2 separate regions of the Homo sapiens genome follow, and region 2 is linked to region 1. Evidence: promoter capture Hi-C in human tissues and cell types (Jung and others, 2019). All regions are on one chromosome and are shown on one strand. The core of a region is centred on a gene start or on the middle of the fragment in contact, and the rest is flanking DNA. Distances in the headings are between cores, read along the strand shown. Region 1 holds the start of CCNJ (cyclin J). Region 2 overlaps ZNF518A (zinc finger protein 518A).

What was found. Contacts are between HindIII fragments. The study calls those that stand out against the background at their distance.
Region 2: a fragment that was not itself captured here is called in contact with the fragment with the promoter of CCNJ in region 1 in 2 of the 25 tissues and cell types used here (heart right ventricle and spleen).

Annotation. Positions count from the first base shown.
Region 1 is chr10:96,042,065-96,047,059 of GRCh38, reverse strand. It overlaps CCNJ (cyclin J), which reads right to left and starts at 3,477. Exons shown (of 6, transcript NM_001134375.2): 1 at 3,341-3,477; 2 at 2,598-2,707. The coding sequence starts at 2,666. The region is part of intron 2 of ENTPD1-AS1 (ENTPD1 antisense RNA 1); the gene reads left to right. RefSeq lists silencers at 3,197-3,766, 3,894-4,088. The HindIII fragment of the contact is 11,661 bases long and covers 1-4,995 here.
Region 2 is chr10:96,162,947-96,168,133 of GRCh38, reverse strand. It overlaps ZNF518A (zinc finger protein 518A), which reads right to left. Exons shown (of 6, transcript NM_001330736.2): 6 at 4,375-5,187. Among named protein-coding and RNA genes, the nearest start is that of ZNF518A, 35 kb to the right of the region's middle. The HindIII fragment of the contact is 3,741 bases long and covers 981-4,721 here.

The DNA of each region.
Region 1 (4,995 bases), core at 2,228-4,727:
AACTTAGCTCAGGGATTAGGGAGTTGGGGAAAAAAGGCAAAACCAGAGCAGGTTTTCCCAAAAAGTGGCCTGAACATGGTCTTAAAGACTCCCTGGAAACACCTGGAAAACACTGATGGACTTCACTTTCTTAATGTTTCTCACAAAGCTAGAATTGTTCCCATTTGTCATTAAGGCTCCTAAAAACACTTTCCCAAACAGCCTATGACACTAACTATACACAGCAAAATAATGAGAAGAAAGGAGACAAAAGGGTGTAAGGTGACAGCTGCTTTGTAGGGGTTTTTTGAGGGAGTGGATAGTTGGCATGATTTCCATTCATTGTCATTTTCACTCTTCCCTAGTAAACACAATGCTAGTCACACCAAATATTTCTCCACAAACCTAGGGCCTAAACATAGAATACCTTCTGCAGTATCTCAATGGCAACTGCCCAAAGGAAGACCTAAATGTGGATGCTCTAAATTATAGATAAGGTTAGACTATGAAGGCAAGGATCATGTCTCGTTCACTGTTATTGCTCTAACACCTGGCATGATATCATGTATGTCATAAATGATCAACATGTTGAAGAAAAACAGATGACTATCCGACTGAATCACCAATTAATAGCCTGGAATTACCACGTCTTTTCTAGGAGAAAAGTCCATTTTAAGTTTCCTTCAGTGTATTACAAACAGTGGTCTCTCCAGTTCCACAAGTTTAAGTTTTACAGATTAATGTAAATTCTTGTATAAAGTGTTGCCAGTAAGAACCATGGTTTGCATAATGCTTAAACATAAAGACAACCCAGGGCAGTAGGCCATAGGTGGCCCAATAAAACTTTCAGTGGCATTCCTTCACACCCTGTGCTACCTTGTCCTCTGATAGTTCATAAGCAACTTGAGTGAGTATAAGGTTGGGTCTTATGCCTTGGATGCTCCAGAAACTAATCCACAAAAGCCTTCAACAAATCTAAATCTAGGAGAAAAAACAAAAAAACAAAGAACCCATGTCCAAACTCAATTGACAAAATGCAGATAATCACTCACGAATTAAAATGATCTACACATAAAATGATTGAAAAGTATGGAAATCACCAAGAAAAACCTTTTAAGTTTCATGCCAATTAAAAAATATACTCTTGGCTGGGCGCAGTGGCTCATGCCTGTAATCCCAGCACTTTAGGAGGCCGAGGCAGGTGGATCACCTGAGGTCAGGTGAAACTCCAACTCAAAAAAAAAGTACTCTTAATATCAACTAATTAATTTCACTACATACCAGAGGGATAAAAAGGCTGACACTTAAAACACTTTTCAAAATATGTGCAACTATATTAATTTTTTTAAAAAAGAAAACATTTCACATTGAAAGATGACATCTGCCAAAAAAAAAAAAGATCAAAAGTGTATCTGGACAATTTTCCAAGAAACTGCAACTCTTTCCTAACTAACACTCCAGAGATCCCATTAGTTAGAATTTTTATGTGGTATAAACCATCTCCTAGGGGGCTGAACTGTATTTTAGTGAATCTAAGAGACTGAATGTCAGAATTAGTTAAGTAGCATTTAGAAATCTCAGGCCTAGAAAAGGGTAACAATTTAAGTCAGAATTAGGTTTTCCAATCTACTTGACCTGGTCAGAAACTCAAGATAAAAGTTCATTATCATTCCAGGATCTCAACCCCAAGAGTCAGAATCCTTTTTATTGAAAGTCAGCTGTTTTGCTTCTTTCTCAATTTTCTACATTTAACAAATGGCTTTCTTTATCCAAGGTGAAACTGAGTTAAGCTAGAGATCATTTTGGATCTGGTCTCTCTTTTGGTTATCGAAGAGGCAGAAATGTCTCATTAATCTGCCTTGCCACATGCAGAGTAAAACCGTTACTTAATAGCAACAATACACAGACTTTGCTTTGTGTTGGAAAAGTATTTTTTTCCAATATCTATTAAGTCTACTTTCTGCCTTTGATATCAGCAGGAAGGGGCAGCCAACTCCCTCCACTTTAGGGCTTTTGAACAGCCCAAATCCTGAGGGGTAAGTGATAAGAAGTTATCACTTAGTGCTTACTATATACCAAGAGCAGTTTCTAAGCACATGTACGGTACTAACTTAAGTTTCACAATCGCCAGAATCATAAGGCACACTCATTATTCCTCATTTTACAGATGAGGAAATCAAGAAACAGAAATTTCACTTGTCCACGTCTCACGGCAAGTTAGCGGAAAGGCTGAGGAATTTATGTACAAAAGCGACTTAAACTGGCTGCATGCAACGGCAACTCTCGAACAAAGAGGGCTGTTCTGCCCAACAAAAATTCAGTGTATATATCTTTTAAAATACAAGATCAAATTCATGACCCACCTGGAAGCCAGAACGCCCCTTTCCACCTTCCCTGGCCCAACTACCATCTCCCTACTCATTCAGGTTGCAGGTTCTTTTGATACATCCCAGAGAAGGAGCCAAGAAGTTAATTAACCTTGAGCAAATGAGCAAACTCGCCTTTTCTGGCCCGGAAGATAGTGAGTAAAGAACCTGACTAGACCTTCTAGAGAGCCGAGATTCAGAACAACTGGCGCGACACACAGAAGGAGAAGGCAGGCCGGGCCTCGGAGTTACCTTGTAGCGAAGCGCTTGGTGAATATCGGCGGCCAGCTGTCCTCGCCACCACTGCCCCTCCAGCTCCATGGGACCCGGCGGCGCGCCCAGCCCGACGCGGCAACTCGAGTCTGTAAGACACACCCCAGGCGCGGTCACTGCCGGCTCCCCCGCGACCCTCTGCGCCCCCTCCCCGGGGGGTGTGACCTCAGGCCACCCGGTGTGGCTGCTCATCTTCACTTGACTCTTCCTCAACCCAGCCCGACCCGAGTCGTTTCCCCCAACGCCACACGCGAAGCCGGGTCTGCCCCCGCAGGAAGAGCCGAAGGACTCTGAGACTCACTGCTCGACTATGTGTCGGGCAAAAGGGGATCCACTCGGGCCCTGAGTTGCCAAAGCGCGGAGCCAGGTGCGAGCTCGGGAAGAGCTGGGGGAGGCCCGGCTGGGGCTCCCTGCGTCCGGGGCTGGAGTTCTCCCGCCCTCCCTGAGGAGCGGGGAGAGGTGACACGCTCATAGCCCCGCTGAGGGGAAACGCTCCCATGGCAAAGCCCGGGGGTGAGCGTCTGCCTGGCCGCGGGTCTCCGCATGGACGTCGGGAGCCTGCTCCTCCCCGGGAGCCCCGAGAAACGCACGTTCCGCGCGGCCTCAGAAAGGGGAACAAAAGGCCGGGCCAGCCAGGCTCTGCGCCTCACCCCGGGAGGGTCCGCTGCCCCACGCCTACCCCAGGCCTGCCGGGCCGCCCGGCCCCACGCTGGCTCCCTTACCCGGAACCGCGGCCCTCACAGCCCCAGCCCCGCCGTCGTGCGGCGGACGCCGGCCCCGCTCATGCTGCGGACAGTGGGCCGCTAAGCGCCGGCCTCAGCTAGAGCCCAGCGCCTGGACGCTCGCGCCGCCCATTGTTAAAGGACCGGCAGGCGGCTCCGCATACAAAGCCAGCGCGGGGGCACTTGAGGCCCCGCCGCTGCCAATCTCGTCTCGCGATACAGCGGGGTCGCCCCGAGCCGTCCAATTGGCGGCCGGGCCGGGCCCAGGTGCAGCGCCAGGCGGCGGCGCGGCGGCTCCCGCCTGGGTACGGTCAGCATCCCGCACGGCGCGGCGTGGCCTGGGCTGGCCTGGCGCTTCGGTTGCCGGGGCGCTCAGCCGCCACCTACTGCGAAGCCGGCCTGATCGCCGGCTGAGGTCGGCAGAGAGCGCCGGAGAAATTGTAAGGTGGATCACTGCAGTGACCAATCCAGTTAGGCCACTCACCTGCTGAGAACCTTCGATGGCTCCTCGATGCCCGCGGAGCAAAGTTCCGACGCCTCAGTTTGGCGTTTAAAAGTCTTCACGGCATGGATTCGGTTTACCTTACTTCACGTTGCACCAACCGCTTCCATCCCAGGGGCTGCTCCGTGGATCATCAGGCCCTCCAAATGTGCTTTAGCTGTTTCTGCAGCCCCTGAAGCGTTTTTTTTTTCCTGTGAAATTATGCTCTTTTTTTAAGTTCCACCTCAAACTCCACCTTTCTTCTAGAAACCTAATTAATCTCTTCCCCCTCCTTATTTTCGTTGCTGTAGGGATTCCCAAGAGCTTTGAATGAAGACATTTAAGATTACTTCTAGTAACCTTGCTTGTCAAACCCATGGTGGATGTAATTAACCATCTGTGCTCGTAAATCAGGAAACTGCAAAACTGTGAGAACACTCCGACGTCAATTGAGGTGATATGGGGGCTGAAATGTGATTAGAGGAAACCTAATCAATTGTATTTTAACCTCTTTGGTGGATTATCACAAAAGAGGTGGATGGTAACCCTAGGACAGTGAGACTGTCCACTTTTCTGAGACTGGAGATCAATCTCTTAATAGTAAAACGTAAATATTTTTAAAACTTCACCCCTTTTACTTTGAATCCTTTGTCCAAAAAGATACATGATGATAAAGAACTACTACAAAGTGATAAATACATTTTATGTGATTCTGGGTGGCATCTTCATTTGAAGATCATCAGCAGACATGTATATGAGCCGTACCCTATCCATAGACGATGCTTATACCCAGGAGAGCAGGCCCGCAGGAACCAAAGGCAAGAAAAGGGAAACTCAGAAGCTGAAGTTGGCAGATCCCGGCCTAACCCGACATAGTCCAGGGAGAAGGCTGCCCTGGCCTGTCTCTCAGTTGCAGGGTCCTCTAGAGTGAAGGTAGACACATCAGGCTAAAAGCTTCATGCCATTTTTAATGGCATTTAAATAGTGTCTACATCCTTGGGTTCCATTTCATGACTATTAAACAACTTTATAATAATTTGGCTTCTAAATAACTGTCCAGGGCCTATTTAAGAACACTTTCAGAAAAATGGGGCACAGACTATAATCATTAGTATAAGAAGTAGACTGTATTTATCGCTTCTACTTTGAAAATATTGTTCACTGGGATATATTT
Region 2 (5,187 bases), core at 1,602-4,101, 120 kb before region 1:
AAGACAATGTATATCTGTTCGTAACTCTTGTTCTTCCCTCCTGATTTTTAAAACTGCGTAATTATAAAACTATGTTGATGGACATATAATTATTATAAAGATGTAGTTTGTGACAATAACAGCATGGGCAGAATGAAGGCATATAGAGCAAATTTTTCATTACTGAAATTAAGTTGAGATTAATCTGAAACAGATAAAACAGACTTGTTTTACAACCTCCTGTAATAAAAACGCTGTCTTTTAAAACAAATTATCTATTGCACTTTTTTGTTTTTGGTGTCACAGCTATGAAAGCTTTGCCTAGAGAATTATCACAAATACTTACATTTTTTGTAAGTTTTACAGTTTTTGCTTGTATTTAGGTCTATGATCCATTTTGAGTTAATTTTTGTGTACATAGTGTGAAGAACACTTTTTCTTCAAACTTTTTGTTTCAGATTGCATATCCTCTATCAATCTGCAGGTTTGCTGATTCTTTCTTCTGCCATCTCAAATCTAGTATTGAGCCTTTCTAGTAACTTTTAAAATTGTAGTTATTGTACTTTTCAACTCCAGAATTTTCATTTAGTTCTTTAAAAAAAATTTCTATCTCTATGTTCTCTACTTGGTGAGACATTAGAATACTTTCCTTAATTCTTCACATCTGGCTTCCTTTAGTTCTTTGGGTTTACTTATTTATTTTGAGGTGGAGTCTCGCTGCCTCCCAGGCTGGACAGCAATGGCGCAATCTCGGCTCACTGCAACCTCTGCCTCCTGAGTTCAAGCGATTCTCCTGCCTCAGCCTCCTGAGTAGCTGGGACTACAGGCGCCCACCACGCTTGGCCAATTTATTTTTAGTAGAGACGGGGTTTCACCATTTTGGCCAGGCTGGTCTCAAACTCCTGGCCTCAAGTGATCCACCCACCTCAGCCTCCCAAACTGCTGGCATTACAGGCATGAACCACTGCACTCAGCCTTTTGAACATACATTTGTAACAGCTGCTTAGCATTTATCCTAAATTTGGTATCCCTCAAAACTTTATATTTCCTACATTTCTCTGTCATATAGGACACATACTTTTCTGTTTCTTTGCATATCTCAATTTTTGTGTTGAAACTGGACATTTTAGGTAACACAGATCTCTGCATACTGATCATCTTCCTTTAGTGACTTGGCTTGACTAATTAATGTATGGCTTGAAGACTGCTTTCACTACTTAAGGAGTTTACAAGTTTGCCCTTCATTTGGCCAGGAACTTGTAGTTTAGAAGTTCTCTCTGGTCAGTCCTCTGAGATGGCAGCCTTCAGCATGCACAGTCTTCCTGATCACAAGGGATGTCTGTAGTTTTATCTAGGTTGTCTCTTTCCCTGATCCTTTCTTTCTTTTTGAGACAGAGTCTCGCTCTGTCGCCTAGGCTGGAGTGCAGCGGTGCGATCTCGGCTCACTGCAAGTTCCGCCTCCCGGGTTCACACCATCCTCTTGCCTCAGACTCTCGAGTAGTGGGACTACAGGTGCACGCTGCCATGCCTGGCTATTTTTTTGTATTTTTAGGAGGGACGCAGTTTCACCGTGTTAGCCAGGATGGTCTCGATCTCCTGACCTTGTGATCCGCCCGTCTCGGCCTCCCAGAGTGCTGGGATTACAGACTGAGCCACCGTGCCTGGCCTCCCTGATCCTTTCTTTAAGCTTCTGGTTATCTATTGGAATGACCTGGCAACTGTTGAACCTCCACTGTTACTGATTGCTCTACTGTTTTCTACAATACTCTGAAGTCTGTTACAAATAAAGTCAGGCCCTGTGACAGTTAATTTTCAGTGTCAACTTGAATGCATTAAGGAATACCTAGACAACTGGTAAAACATTATTTCTGAATGTGTCTGTGAGGGTGTTTTCAGAGACTGGTATGTGAGCCATTACACTGAATGGGGAAGATTTGCCCACAATGTGATTGACGCACAATCCAAACAGCTAGGAGCCTGGACAGAAGGAAAAGAGAAAAAGCTAATTCTCTCTCCACTAACTTCCTCCCCCCACGCCTAACGCCATACCCCAGGAGCTGAGACAGCTTTATTTTCATGCCCTTGGACATCAGAACTCCAGGGTTTCAGGCCTTTGGATTCGAGGACTTACACCCGTGGCCCCTTGGTTCTCAGGCCTTCTATCTCAGTCTGAGAGTTACACCACCAGTTTTCCTGGTTCTGAGGCTTCTGGACTTCGACTGAGTCATGCTACCACCATCACTACGTCTCTAGCTTGCAGACAGCCTAGTGTGGGACTTCCTAGCCTCCATAATTACATAACCTAATTCCCTCAAGACATGCCCTCATATTGGTTCTGTATCTCTGAAAAACCCTAATTCAGGCCTCTTGTAATAATGTGTTGTCAGTTTTTGAAGCTTACTCCAACCCTCCACTGAACAGAACCTCTGTACCTTTATGCTATGGAACAGCTGGAGGATAGAAAGAATGGTAAATCAGCTCTTCAGTGAATGCCCAAACCACAATCCTCCCTGTAAAGCAGCTCTGTTAGAGGAAGAGGGTAATGGGGGTAGGGGTGGGGGACAAAGTTCTAAAAATGTAATCTGCTAAGCAGGTATATTTAGTCTTCCACTCAGAAATACTATGTATCTCCCAGTTATATCTTACAGGTTTGGTTTGGTGTCTGTTTTTTTTTTTTTTTTTTTGGTTGTTGTTGTTTTTTGGCAGGCTTGTATTATTTTGTGCCTCTTATTATAGACGGGTCTTACTGGCTGGGCATGGTGGCTCATGCCTATAATCCCAGACTTTGGGAGGCCAAGGCAGGTGAATCACTTGAGGTCAGGAGTTTAAGACCAGCCTAGCCAACATGGTGAAACCCCATCGCTACTAAAAATATGAAAATTAGCTGGGTATCGTGGTGGGCACCTGTAATCCCACTACAGGAGCGGTACTTGAACCCGGGAGGCAGAGGCTGCAGTGAGCCAAGACTGTGCCACTGCACTCCAGCCTGGGGAACAGAGTGAGACTCCATCTCGAAAAATAAATAAATGGGTCTTCTTTTATTGTTCCCCAGTTGATTACTGTTAATTGTTCAGGAAAGTAACTAATTTTCAGTGTACTCCTTTAAACTTCCAAGATATTAAAAGCAAGTCATCTACAAGAGTATTTTGGTCTCTCTCCCAAATTTAACTTTCATTTTGCTTTCCTATTCTTTGACATTAGCAATAGCTTATGATGTAATTGATGATCGCAGGCAACATTTCACTCCTTAATTGAAAGATGTATTTCATGAGTTGCCACATAAACATAACCCTTACTTTTGGTTTAAGCACTTTGAAGTATATGGAAAAATTCTTATTTTAACACATTAGAAATGTCTTTACTAGGAAAAAGTATTTAAATTAAGCACATTCTTGGCATCTCCTAAATTCATGACTTCTAAAATTGATGTACATTATATTTTTTCCACACTATTTACTTGAAAGTTTCCACTCTTGTAACAATTATTCTCGTTTTAAAAAGATTCCTAAATTTGGAGGCATTAACAGAAGCTTTGTTAAACTAGTCAAAAAGCACCTCAAAGATGACTTCATGAAATACTTCCTCCAAGATACTAATTACTTCTCAATTCTCCAGTTATTAAGAGAGGCATACATAAATTAATAAACATCAAACTCAACCATTTCAACTCTCCATTACAGGAAAAAGTTTCCACTAATGCCATACTCTGCTAACTAGCAACAAATACCACCCTGAAAAATCCCCCCAGTAAGTTTTGCTAGATGAGATCCCCAATGGGTCAAGGTAGTATGCTGAGAGCAAGGATCCTAACAAGTTGCTAAGGCAAAGAACAGAGCCAACGCCCCAAATGGCTCTGTTAAGAAAGTTAAGGAAGGAAGTAGATGTCAATGGTGAAAAGGAATCTTATTTTTAAAAAATCAAGATAAGCTGTATGGAATTAGTATATAATATTCTGTTTTTAATTCACCTCCATTTTCTCCCACCCCAAGAACTTCTATTACTTTTTCTTAACAGCTATTTCAAATCACTGAAAGAATATCTAAGTCCTTTTCCCATCTAACCTGGACATAAATTCTCACAGCATTTCTGCTCTATCTCATTTTTAATCCCTTCATAAGTTGCACTACTCTTAGCACACAAATGACCTATTTTACCCACTAACCATTTTCATTACATTTACAGTCTCTTCACTGTTATACAAATACATCTATACTAGAAACTTTATATACATATTTTAGTTCGTACTTTGTAGCTCTTTTACACAGGTGAGGTACATCACGAAACTTATCAAGCTTGTTTTTTTAAATAAAAATCCCATTCTGAAAGCAGACTCTAGGGAATTCAAGCAACAGTCAGTAAACTATGTCTGGTGGGCCAAATTCAGCCCACTTCCTGTTTTTATAAATTGTTTTATTAAAACATAGCCACACTAATTCATTTACATATTGTCTATGGTTTTTTTCTGCATTATGAGAATTGAGTAGTTAGGACAGAAACTAGAAGGCCTACGAAGCTTATTTATCTGACCCTTTATTGAAAAAATTTGCTAACCCCCCAATGAAAATATTTTCCATTAAAAAAACTATTACATTTCAATTTGTGTTACTGAATACTTAGCAAGATAAATTCTTTGAAAACTGAATTATGTTTTTTAAGTACTTGCCAAATAGTAAGAAACCCATTTCAGTGGAGATGGACAAACTAGAAAAAATAAAACAAATTCCTCACACAGAAATTCAACTGCAAAACTAAAACTAACTCTTCAATTGTAATAAGAACCTCGAACTACTGAAAATCATATTTTGGAAAGCCCTCTTTGGAAAGCCACACACAAAAAATAAAGGATACAGGCTTTTGTTTTGGATTTTCTGCAATGGCAATAATGAAACTCTAAGCAGGTCTGCCTCCCTCAGAATAACTTAAGTTAACAAAATCAGAAAAAGTTCCAACTAGAATATCTGGAGCACAAAGCTTACTTTAAATGGCTGTTAAAACTTAAAGGCAAGAAGTACATATCTCGACATTATTTTCCTGATATGGCTATTCTGAAATGTAATGTTATAGTGCTGCGAATATTAGCAGGAAAGTTCCTTCTCTCTCCTTGCTATTTACAGCAGGTGATGTCTCATAACAGATCTATATGTAACAAACAGAGCATTTTAATTTTATTGCTGTTAGGGTACTGAAGACTATAAGCCTCTCTATGGC